2 separate regions of the Homo sapiens genome follow, and region 1 is linked to region 2. The links are contacts of gene promoters, found by promoter capture Hi-C in blood cells and fetal thymus (Javierre and others, 2016). All regions are on one chromosome and are shown on one strand. Each heading gives the region's core, a stretch centred on a gene start or on the middle of the fragment in contact. The rest is flanking DNA. Distances are from core to core; before and after follow the strand shown.

Region 1 (5,507 bases), core at 98-2,597, 2.1 Mb before region 2:
AATTAACATATTTTATGACGTACCACAGTATACTCTGCCCAAACCAGCACCCTATCTATCTTTCCTGTTCTTTACATCCCTGTTCCCCATCCCTACTTCCTCATTTTTGGTATAACACAGTTCTTTTGTAGCATCATTATAATTGCAGTTCTATGGCAATTGGACAGTTATAGCATGGAAACAGACTGGTATAAGTAGTACAGTAGTCACCAGTGTGCCACATTTGCATTAGTAATGCAAAATATACATTTTATAAAGGACAAACTTTGTGTTATGTTTTATTTTCATTACATTGTATAATATTGTAAGACTATTGTATGTCCTAATTTGCATTATAAATGTTTTTTTCCTACGTAAAGGCATAAATATAGCAACTTTGTATAAAGGTAGCTTATTAGATTTTTAATTTTTTCTTTTATAAAAAATTGTCCAACAGTGGGACTACCATTGCCAAATTGTATATGAAATATGAATTTTACCCCCATGGTTAATTTCTTTTATAAACATTCCATATTTCTCTAATAAAAAGACATAAGTGATACTGTACTATGCATACATTGTATCTTAATGCTGTTTCAGATCAGCATTTTAAATTTTGGTTTGCATTTTTAATATTGGCAAAACGTAACCACTGTTAATTAAAATAAAACCTTGTTGTATATGTAACAACATAATTTTCCCTCTATCCCTTCCCACCCTTTGTTCTCTATTTCTCCCTATCAGTGCCAACTTCATACATTTTGTAGCATGGCAATAAAATATAACTTTTACACTGAGGCCGAGTGTGGCTTTTTGGAGGAAGTGGGGATGGGACGATTGCCCTCTAGTTGTCCTTTGCATATGACTGTTTTTTGCCATATAAGCCATGTCATCAGGCATGAAAAGTTTTCTCATATATGATGTAAACTTGCTTTTAAGGACAAGTGTGAATGTGCTTTTTAAGCTTAATTTTTGTCATGACAACTAATTTTTTTTATCTTTGGAGAAGTCAGAGTTCTTTACAATCAAACGTTTATTAACTGGAGTACTTAGAATAAGCTAGTAATTGAATTTAGTTCAAGGGCTAAGCAACACATTTTTAAATCCTTATTTATTGTAGAGTATTAGTATACTGTCCTACAAATTATGTAAAATATGGTTTAATATTAGATGACTTTGGATTTTGCAATGCCTTACTGTTGTCATTCTAGCATAAATATCCATAATGAGGTACTCAAGTTGATACTGGAAGCTGAGCTGATCATACACTGACCTGAAGCATTCATGAAAAGCTGCTTTATTGAATAAAGTCTGATTGGAGTTCTTTTCATGCTCACTTTCCCCTTATTGCTGAAAGTAGATTGCAATAAAACCCCAATAAAACGTTTGGTCGGATATCTACTTAAAAGTTTTATTGTATTTATATTTCACATACTACTTGAAACTTTGTGACATTTTCTTTCCTAGTCTCATATCACTGCCTCCATTTTCAAAATGAAGATATCAAAATGAAATTGTAACTATATGACAGGCTTTCTCACAGTTTTAGCTGTGTGATCATTCCAAATAGTAGTTCTCAGCTCTGGGACTTCAAACCTGTTTTTAGCCACTGAGTGACATTGCAAAGCCTTAGTTGAGTACAGGTCAAGATGGAAATTATTTAAACAATGAAGGAGATGGACATGTCCACAAGTGATTGATGTAACTGGCATGATAAAGACACACACAAAGGAAGGGCATCCAACTCAGCCTAGGGGTGGAGGTTTTCAAGCAAAGCTTCTTAGAGGGGGTGATCCCTGAGGTGGTTTGTTGAAAGTCTTTGTAGCTTAGAGAGGATGTCTTAGGGAGAAGGGATAGCATGTGCAAAGGCACAGAGGTATAGAAAGATCATGACATTCAGTGGTTGCAAGAGGTTCCAAATGACTAAGCGCATGGAGAGCAAAGGCAGGGTTGGGGGATACAGAAGAAAGGAGAAATGAGAAACAGATCACAGAATCCTAAGGAGCTTTTGTTTAAATTAGGTGAGAGAACTTGAAGGATTTTAAACACCAGAAAAATAATAGTTTAGAAAGATTTCTCTGACAACATGGATACGTGAAGGGCGCAGTATTTTTTTTTTTTTTTTTTTTTTTTTTTTTGAGACGGAGTCTCTCCCTGTTGCCCAGGCTGGATGGAGTGCAGTGGCGCCATCTCGGCTCACTGCAAGCTCCCCCTCCCAGGTTCATGCCATTCTCCTGGCTCTGCCTCCCAAGTAGCTGGCCCTACGGTATTTTAATAAAGCAGGGAGACTGGTTGAGAGGCTTTTTCAGAAATGGAGCCAGATCTGATAAATCCGTATTCAAAGGCATTGTTAAAGGACTGTTTAGATTGTTTACTGCTGTGCAACAAACCACCCTAAAAGTTAGTGGCTTAAAGCAGCAATCATTTAATGTCTCAAGTTGCTATAGATCGAGATGGGCAGGGCACAGCAGAGATGGCTCATCTCACATGATGTCTGGAGGCCTGGCTTCCTCATATGCTTTGTGCCTATGCTAGTATGATTCAAGCAGCTGAGGGCTGGCTGGACCAGTTCCACTAGGTTATGTCTGGAACTTAAAGCTCTCAGCTGTGTTCCTTAGTTTTCTTCCATGAAGTCTTGGGTCTTTCTTCATGTGGTCTTCTTACATGGCAGCTTAGGGTTCCCAAGAGCACAAAAGTAGATGCTGCTAGGCTTTCTTGAGGCCTAAGCCCAGAACTGGCACAATGTCAATTCTGTTGTATTTTGTTGAATTACAGTGGCTCATATAAAAGCATGAACATCAAAAGTGTAGTTTATTCAGGGCCACCAATGTAATAGAGGGCCTAAAGGAGGAAGAATTAACACCTCTGATTGATAAGGGGAATGACAGAAATGGAGGGGTCAAGGATGACCCCCAGTTATCTGGTTTGGGTGACTGAGATGGTTGATGGTGTCAGTTCATTGAGATTTAAGATATATTTGGGGGCTGGGCATGGTGGCTCATGCCCGTAATCCCAGCACTTTGGGAGGCTGTGGAGGGTGGATCACTTCAGCCCAGAAGTTTGAGACCAGCCTGGGCAACATGGTGAAAACCTGTTTCTATGAAAAAATACAAAAATCAACTGGCGTGGTGGTGTGTGCTTGTAGTCCCAGCTACTCAAGAGACTGAGGCAGGAGGATAGATTAAGCCTGGGAGGTTGAGGCTGCAATGAACTGTGATCCTGCCACTGTGGTCCAGCCTGGGCAACATAATGAGACCCTGTTTTTTTTTTTTTTAAAGTGCTCCTCTAAGTGTGCTCCACAGACTGATTCCTGTGTACAAACTATCACGGTCTGCAACAGGAGAAATATCAAGTCTTCTAACCTTCTCCCTACTACCCAAACAGTAGGTGTCTGGGTGGACCCAACTTAATGTGACTGTGGACTCCTGGTCCTTTATTTGGTTTCCTTCCCCAGGTATTCTAACTGTTCCTGAGGAATGTTGACAAGTCCCATAACTCTGTTCTGGTGGTTGTTTGCCACTTCGCCAGTTATTTCACTCCAGTTAATGAATCTACCCTTGCTCCCAAATCACCTCTAGCCATCAAATAATGATATGCTACAGTGCTTTCCTACTTCCATAACATGCCAAGCATATCCAACCTCGGCTACTATATTTATAAAGCCTATTAGAAGACTTGGGATATAATGATAACAATAGCTAAGCTAAACAGGCACTGTTCTAAGCTATTTAATCTGTGATAATTATCTCCATTTTACACAAAGGGAAATTGAGGCACAGAGAGATTATATAACTGGAAGCTGACCAGTTAACAAAAAGCCAATTCACTGAAAGCCAAATTATACCAAGGGGAAGAGAGAGGAGGACACAGGGTCATAGAGAGGAGAGGGTCACAAAGACTTTGAGGGAGGAGGAAGGGTTAACTAAGAGAAGCCAAGACCAAGGGACTTGAGAGTAGAGGACAGAAGATGAGCCAGGAGAAAGTCACACAACGTGTTTAATCACAGAAACATGGATTCCCAAGGTCTCACTATCTCCATAGGCCCTGTAACCTATCTAATACAAATTACGATAAAATGTATAAATAGATGGGCACAGTGGCTTCTGCCTGTAATTCCAGCACTTTGGGAGGCCAAGGTGGGCAGATCGCATGAATTCAGGAGTTCAAGACCAGCCTGAGAAACATGGCAAAATCCCGTCTCCACCAAAAATACAAAAAATTAGCTGGTGTGGTGGCGCATGCCTGTATTTCCAGCTACTCGGGAGACAGGTCGGAGGATCGCTTGAAGTCAGGAGGCAGAGGTTGCAGTGAGTGGAGATCACACCACTGCACTCCTGCCTGGGTGACAGAGTAAGACCCTGTCTCAATTAAAAAATATATATATAGGTGTGGTGGCTCATGCCTGTAATCCCAGCACTTTGGGAGACTGAGGTGGGCAGATTGCTTGAGGTCAGAAGTTCGAGACCACCCTGGCCAACATGGTTAAACCCTGTCTCTACTAAAAATACAAAAATTAGCCAGCTGTGGTGGTGCATGCCTGTAGTCCCAGCTATTTGGGAGGCTGAGGCAGGAGAATTGCTTGAACCCGGGAGGCGGAGGTTGCAGTGAGTTGAGATCATACCACTGCACTCCAGCCCGAGCGACAGAGTGAAACTCTGTTTCAACAACAACAACAACAACAAAAAAGTATAAACAGCTAAAAGAGACAGTTTTTGGTAAACCAGCACATTGATCACGCTCTGAATGGCCTTCAATGAACTGATTTAAAGAGCCTGTGAAACCCACCCAAGACTACAAAGCTAGTACGTAAAATGGTTGAAATTCAAACTCATATAGTCTGGGTCTAGAAGCTGAGTGTTTAGCCTCTAGGTGTAGAGGTGTCATCAAAGGAGGGGGAAGTAGGAAAGAAGGAAGGGTCAAAAGATGCAATGGAGAAAGGACACATTTCCAAGGGTCCCATCATAGAGTCTCTTCCTGGCTGCCTCTAGCCTCAGTTCCACAAGGTGGCAGGGCCTGCCTCCTTCTCCCCATCCAAATGCCTCTGGCTACATTCAAAGCCCAGCAGGGAGCAGTCATTGGTTTCCCCATCACACACAGTCTCAGGCTTGCCTACCAGAGGACATAATAAATATCTCCAGGTATGTAATTTTGCCCACAATAAAAACAACCTTTTTCAATATTGTGCAGGCATCTTAGTTTTTTATTGTGAATCTTCTCATTCCAGAATGCGATTTGGGATCTGCCTAGGAAAGTACATTTCCTGAAAGAAGACCAAATTTTCCTACAAAGAAGAGAAAACTCTTGGGAGATTTAAAATAACAATTTGTCCAGCCTGAACTCCCCTTTTCATGTTGGACCTGAGGAATACTGTAAACCAGGGTCAGCAAACTTTTTCTGTAAAGAATTAGATAATACATGTTTTAGGTTTTGTGGGCCCATTCAACCTGTCATGACTACTCAACTCTGCCACATAACTCTGCTATCGTATTGTGACAGAGTAAATATGTATGGGTATGCCCATGGATTCC
Region 2 (5,937 bases), core at 506-3,005:
TCAATTTTCTATCTGCCACGCAGAAAAAAAGAGGGGTTTGCAAAGGGCGTAGCTTTGGGTCCTTTTGTTACTTAGGTATGGGAAGTTGGGGTTTTCCTTTTGATTTAGCTCTAGGAAGTCAGCATGAATCGGCCTTAGGTTCCCTGCCTCAATAGGAGACCCTATTCTCCTGCCTCAAGATCATGTTTAACCCTTGGTAACTGAAACTGCCTATTGCATATAAGAACTACTGTATTTTAATTATATTAACTCCTCTAAATTATTTTGGTCTTAAGCTAGAATAACTTTTATGGAGAAAAACATCTATAATTGGTCACTGAAAAAAATAGAAGGGAAAATATTCATCTAAAGGGTCAGTTCACTGACACTACTATTTAATATGCATTTTTTAGCCAGATCTAATAGTCATGAGAAAATCATCCCTGACATCCAGGGACTGACCTGACACAGCTACACCACAGTGTTGGGAGATAGCTTGACATTCACAACTAGGCTATGATTTTCCTATCGAACACCAACTAATCAGAGAGGGTCACTCTGTGACTGTGGTGAAGCAAGGCAAAAAAAAGAAAAAAAAAAAAAAGACCAGTTTATAATTTTGTCTAAGCAGAGACAAAAACAATGCGACTGTGCAAACCACAAAACATTAGCTTTCATTATTAATAATTTTACCCAGTAGTCTGGTAACATTGATACTGGCCAGTCAGCTTGGTGAAATAATCCAAACATTTACCTATGCAGAACAGACTAAGACAAAAATAAAGTAGGCACATAATACATTTCAGCATAAAGACCATATATGTATATTATCTAGTACAGGAAGCCCACTACTATTTAGTCCTACTTCACAGATTTGATTCTTAGTTAACTACTTAATTAGATGTCTTACCAAAGAAAATGACAAGCTGTCTTGGCATGTATTTTGAAATTTAAAATAATGTGAGCTTTTTTAAAGTAACTACTCTTGGGGCTTAAAACACAATTGCATACTGTGTCTGAAATGGATTTGGCTCCTCTTCTTACACTGTCAGCAATTAACTGAAAAAATTGATAAATATTATGTAATTATCAGTTAATTACTGTTAACCCAGGCAAACAAGTTAATTTCACATAAAACATGAAATCAGGCCGGGCGCTGTAGCTCACGCCATTAAACCCAGCACTTTGGGAGGCCGAGGTGGGTGGATCCCCTGAGGTCAAGAGTTCGAGACCAGCCGGGCCAACATGGCAAAACCCCGTCTCTACTAAAAATATAAAAATTAGCCGGGCGTGGTTGTGGCGCCTGTAATCCCAGCTACTCCGGAGGCTGGAGCAGGAGAATCGCTTAGAACCTGGGAGGCGGTGGTTGCAGTGAGCAGAGATCGTGCCACTGCACTCCAGCCTGGGCGGCAGAGAGAGACACTGTCTCGAAAAAAAAAAAAAGAAAAGAAAAGAAATCAGCCACGATTCAGATTTTTAATGCTAACAAGACGTTTTGCTTTCTAAATGCACACACCTTTAATATAAGGGGTGTGAGGACAGATATTTCCACAATCTAAGTGGTGTTATGACAATAATTACGAGAGCTCAGTAATAGAAACTATGTTTAACTTTACCTCGCTAGCAGCCAGGAGTCTAGCACATTATAGGTACTAAACAATGTTGTTTAGTACCTATAATGTGGTTTTGGAGAAGCAGTGCAAACGCAGCCGGCCAGGATGCCAGCAGTGCCTGCCCACGTGAGCTAGGCGACATCCCCCTAAGCGGCTGCGGCGCATGCCCACAGCGGGCGAGGCGCTAGAGGCGGGGGCGCCGGGAGGCGCGGGCTTTGCTCCTGGGGTCTCGGCCTTGGCCGGCTGGACCTGACCCTAGGGCGGCTTGCGCAGCTGTCGGGACGTGACTGCGTTCAGCCGCGTCGGGCGTGCTTCCCAGACTTGCCCAAGTTCGGGTGCCCTAGCTGCCCCTTTGCAGCCGCTGGCCTACCCGGCCCGCGGGTGAGAAGGTTGCGACGGGAGGTGGGTGGAACTCGCCAGCGCCGGGACCGCGGATTGGCTGCCTCGGCTTTCTCTTTTCCCCGTGGGCTCCGGCGTGAGGCGCTGAAGCGGCCGGCAGCCGGCGACCGGCCCTCACCGTCCGCCGGGTTGCGCTCTGCTTTTGCGGTGAGGCGTTGACCACGCCCATATGAATTGGAGCTCTCCGCCAGTAGGAGTTTCCGGAAGGAGTTTGAATTTTTGTGATTTTTATGCTTGTTTGGTCGGTGGAATATGTTGGGATTTATGTTTGCCTCTGAACAAGTGTCTTGCTCACATCGTAAATGACTTTCTCTCCGAAACGCTAAATATTCTTTCCCGCAGGAGCTCATATCCTTATTTTCCATGACAGATCTTAACGACAATATATGCAAAAGATATATAAAGATGATAACTAATATAGTTATACTGAGCCTGATCATTTGCATTTCGTTAGCTTTCTGGATTATATCAATGACTGCAAGCACCTATTATGGTAAGTCTGAGTGTTCTAAGTTGTTTCTCTGTAATCTAGTCAGAGGAAATTAAAACCATACCATTGTGAAATCCAAAACTCATATCCTCTGAATGGTTATGAATGGTTGTGTTTACTTAACTTCCATAGCCTGATTTAACTTACTAACATGATAGTATAAACAATGCCTTTAATAAATGCTTGTTGTGATAATTCGAGTTATACCTATTTCTTTTTTTTTTTAATTTTTATTTTGTATAAGATAGGGGTCCCTCTGTGTTGCTAGGCTGGTCTCAAACCCCTAGGCTCAAGTGATCCTCCCACCTGTGTCTCCCAAAGTGCTGGCAATACAGGCCACCACTTCTGGACTAGTTACACCTATTTCAAAATGTCTTTATATTTTATGTAACTATTCCATCTGTCTTGGTAAAAGATAAGTGAGGCGAATATAGCTTTGTAAAGCAATTACAGTGATGCTTTTAATTTTGAATAAGAATATTAGTAATGGGCCAGGCGCGGTGGCTCACGCCTGTTATCCCAGCACTTTGGGAGGCCGAGGCGGGCAAATAACCTGAGGTCGGGAGTTCAAGACCAGCCTGGCCAACACGGTGAAACCCCAGCTCTACTAAAACTAGAAAAAAGCTGTAATCCCAGCTACTTGGGAGATGGAGGCAGGAGAATCACTTGAACCCTGGAGGCGGAGGTTGCAGTGAACCAAGATTGAGCCACTGCACTCCAGCCTGGGCCACAGAGCGAGAATCCGTCTCAAAAAAAAAAAAGTAGTAATGTAGTTTATCAGTTTCACATGTTCTGTAAAAATAATAAGAATTAAAAACGGTATACTATTTACATTTGGAGAGCTGAAGGACTTATCTGCCATTTGGTTGCTTCAAAAGAATAGACTCCTTTTAAAGCCTAAAGCTACATTGCTTAAATATAAGGTACTCTGGACTCAGATCTTTAAAGTTTTAAAGGTGCTTTAGAGCATAAGCCTCCATTTACACAAACTTCCTTCTCCTATGAAAACAAAATACTGGTCAGTTTGCAACAAAGGAAAAATGAAAAGGAGAATGAGAATGCTTGTATCGTAAGGGATTGCCATTTCAGACTGTAGGCTTTTTGCAAAGAGACATGTGAATAGTTGGAAAGGGTTCTCCAGGCTACAGAAGCTCTCAGTGCAGTTCGTTCATAATGATTCACAGTGGGGCATCAGAGTTTTAGGGGAGGGGTGTAAGAAAAGATTCTTGTTAGTGACAGTATTTACTATGACTTGAACTAAATGGAATAAATCAGGATTTGTAAACTGAAATATCCCTCTGGGGCCAGTCACCTAATGCAAATGAATCTGTGTACGTTTTTGTGTATTAGACCTGTGGTAATAGTTTTCATTTCCAGAAATAGGATATTTCTCATCTTTTGTTGAATGCTTGGGCCCTCTTTGTCTTTCATTTCCCCTTTATTTTTCTGAGACGGAGTTTCGCTCTTTTTGCCCAGGCTGGAGTACAGTGGCACGATCTCAGCTCACTGCAACCTCTGCCTTCTGGTTTCTCCTGCCTCAGCCTCCCAAGTAGCTGGGATTACAGGTGCCTGCCACCATGCCTGGCTAATTTTTGTATTTGTAGTAGAGACAGGGTTTCATCATGTTGGCCAGGCTGGGTCTCGAACTCCTGACCTCAGGATCCTCCTGCCTTGGCCTCCCAAAGTGCTGGGATTACAGGCATGAGCCACTGCGCCCGGCCCATTTTCTCATTTTTGATAGAAACATAGATACAAGCAGTGGTTCACAGTTTTCTTTACCATAAGGAAATCACTTTGCCTTGGCGTTTAGGAGCCTATCAGGAGGGGTGGGAACTTTAAATGGGAAAGCCACGGCCTGTTTAAAGGAGGGCACCTCTCTTTACCTTAAGTCAATTCTGCCATGTTGGCCAGAACTTCCCAATTTTAAAACAGAAGCCAAGAATCTGGATTTTTATATGATATCTCCTAATCTTTAAATATTGACTAAAATTATTTGAAAACACTCTGCTAGCCAAACATCTGTGAGCTGGATGCAGCCTCTGGAATAATCAATTTCTAACCATTGAATGAGGTGTCTGTCCTCTGACAGGCAGAGAGGAGTAAGATCCTGTTACAAAAAGAGTTCGTTCTAGGTAGTCCTTGAAATTTAATACGTGCCCCCTTTAAAAAAAATGAACCAGAGGTTCATTTTAAATATCTAGATATCCATTATTATCATAAATAGCAGTAAAAGGTTTTCAAAACTTGGACATAACCTATTTGGCCATTCTCCAGTAAGACTGTTTCTCCGAAAATATGCATGCATGTCTCAACATAAATACAGTCATGCTCTGCCTAACAATGTTTTCGTCAATGACAGACCACACATACAACATGTTCCCATAAGATTATAATACCATATTTTTACTCTACTTTTTCTATGTTTAGATACACAAATACGTTATAATTGCCTGTAGTATTCAGTACAGTAACATGCTTTACAGGTTTGTAGCCTAGGACCAATAGGCTATAGCATATAGCTTAAGTGTGTAGTAGGCTCTACCATCTAGGTGTGTGTAAGTACAGTCTGACGTTTGCATAACCATGAAATCACCTAAGGATGCATTTCTCAGAACATATCCCTATCTTTAAGTGATGCATGACTATATATTTCTTTGGTGACTTCATCTTGGTGTTTGTACTTATGACAGTATTTTAGTCTAAAAGCAGTAACGGAAGTTTACTGCCAAAACTAACCTGTGCAAACTTCACACAATTTGTGCTCCACCTTTATAATTTTTCAGGTAACTTACGACCTATTTCTCCGTGGCGTTGGCTGTTTTCTGTTGTTGTTCCTGTTCTGATCGTCTCTAATGGCCTTAAAAAGAAAAGTCTAGATCACAGTGGGGCTCTAGGAGGTATGTTTTTATTTTGAATGTTTACAGTAACTACTAAGTGCTTGCTTATATAATTTAAATTTATGTTTTCTAAATTCTGAATATATGAGACTGACTACAAATCACAGTTATATATTTTAGACAATGATAAAGTTACATCTTGCTCAGCATTCCTATTGTCAAAATTTCAGAAACTAACGTACACTTTTAGTGTAACATACAAATTAAACTCTGTGATTGATACAAAGTAGATTAATAGGATAGATGAACCTTGACTATTCTGCTCCTTTAGTTTGATTAGTCTTCTACCAGCAGAAACACTGGAGCACTCCTCCTATATGTAAAATAGAGCATTTGGAGAGAATAACTTTTGGAAATTGCTGTTAGTAATCTCAAAACAGAGCAGTCCAAACTTAGTGTTCTGGATTAATTTTCCAAAACTGAGTTGAGAACAGGATATGCATTCATTCTTTTAGCAATTTTTTTTTTCCCGAGACAGTCTTGCTCTGTTGCCCAGGCTGGAGTGCAGTGGCATGATCGGCTCACTGCAACCTCCTCCTCCTGGATTCAAGCGATTCTT

The links. Contacts are between HindIII fragments. The CHiCAGO score rates a contact against its expected background, and 5 or more counts as called.
Region 1: a fragment that was not itself captured here is called in contact with the fragment with the promoter of TMEM19 in region 2 in 1 of 17 cell types (non-activated CD4 T cells); the score reaches 5.2 in non-activated CD4 T cells.

The regions. Positions count from the first base shown.
Region 1 is chr12:69,578,407-69,583,913 of GRCh38, forward strand. It overlaps FRS2 (fibroblast growth factor receptor substrate 2), which reads left to right. Exons shown (of 9, transcript NM_001278356.2): 9 at 1-1,387. Among named protein-coding and RNA genes, the nearest start is that of MIR3913-2, 3.6 kb to the right of the region's middle. The HindIII fragment of the contact is 812 bases long and covers 942-1,753 here.
Region 2 is chr12:71,684,327-71,690,263 of GRCh38, forward strand. TMEM19 (transmembrane protein 19) reads left to right here and starts at 1,756. Exons shown (of 6, transcript NM_018279.4): 1 at 1,756-2,484; 2 at 5,265-5,378. The coding sequence starts at 2,355. LOC124902965 (a long non-coding RNA gene) reads right to left here and starts at 1,738. Exons shown (of 2, transcript XR_007063367.1): 1 at 1,596-1,738. RefSeq lists silencers at 2,028-2,097, 2,088-2,303 and an enhancer at 3,652-3,721. The HindIII fragment of the contact is 11,589 bases long and covers 1-5,937 here.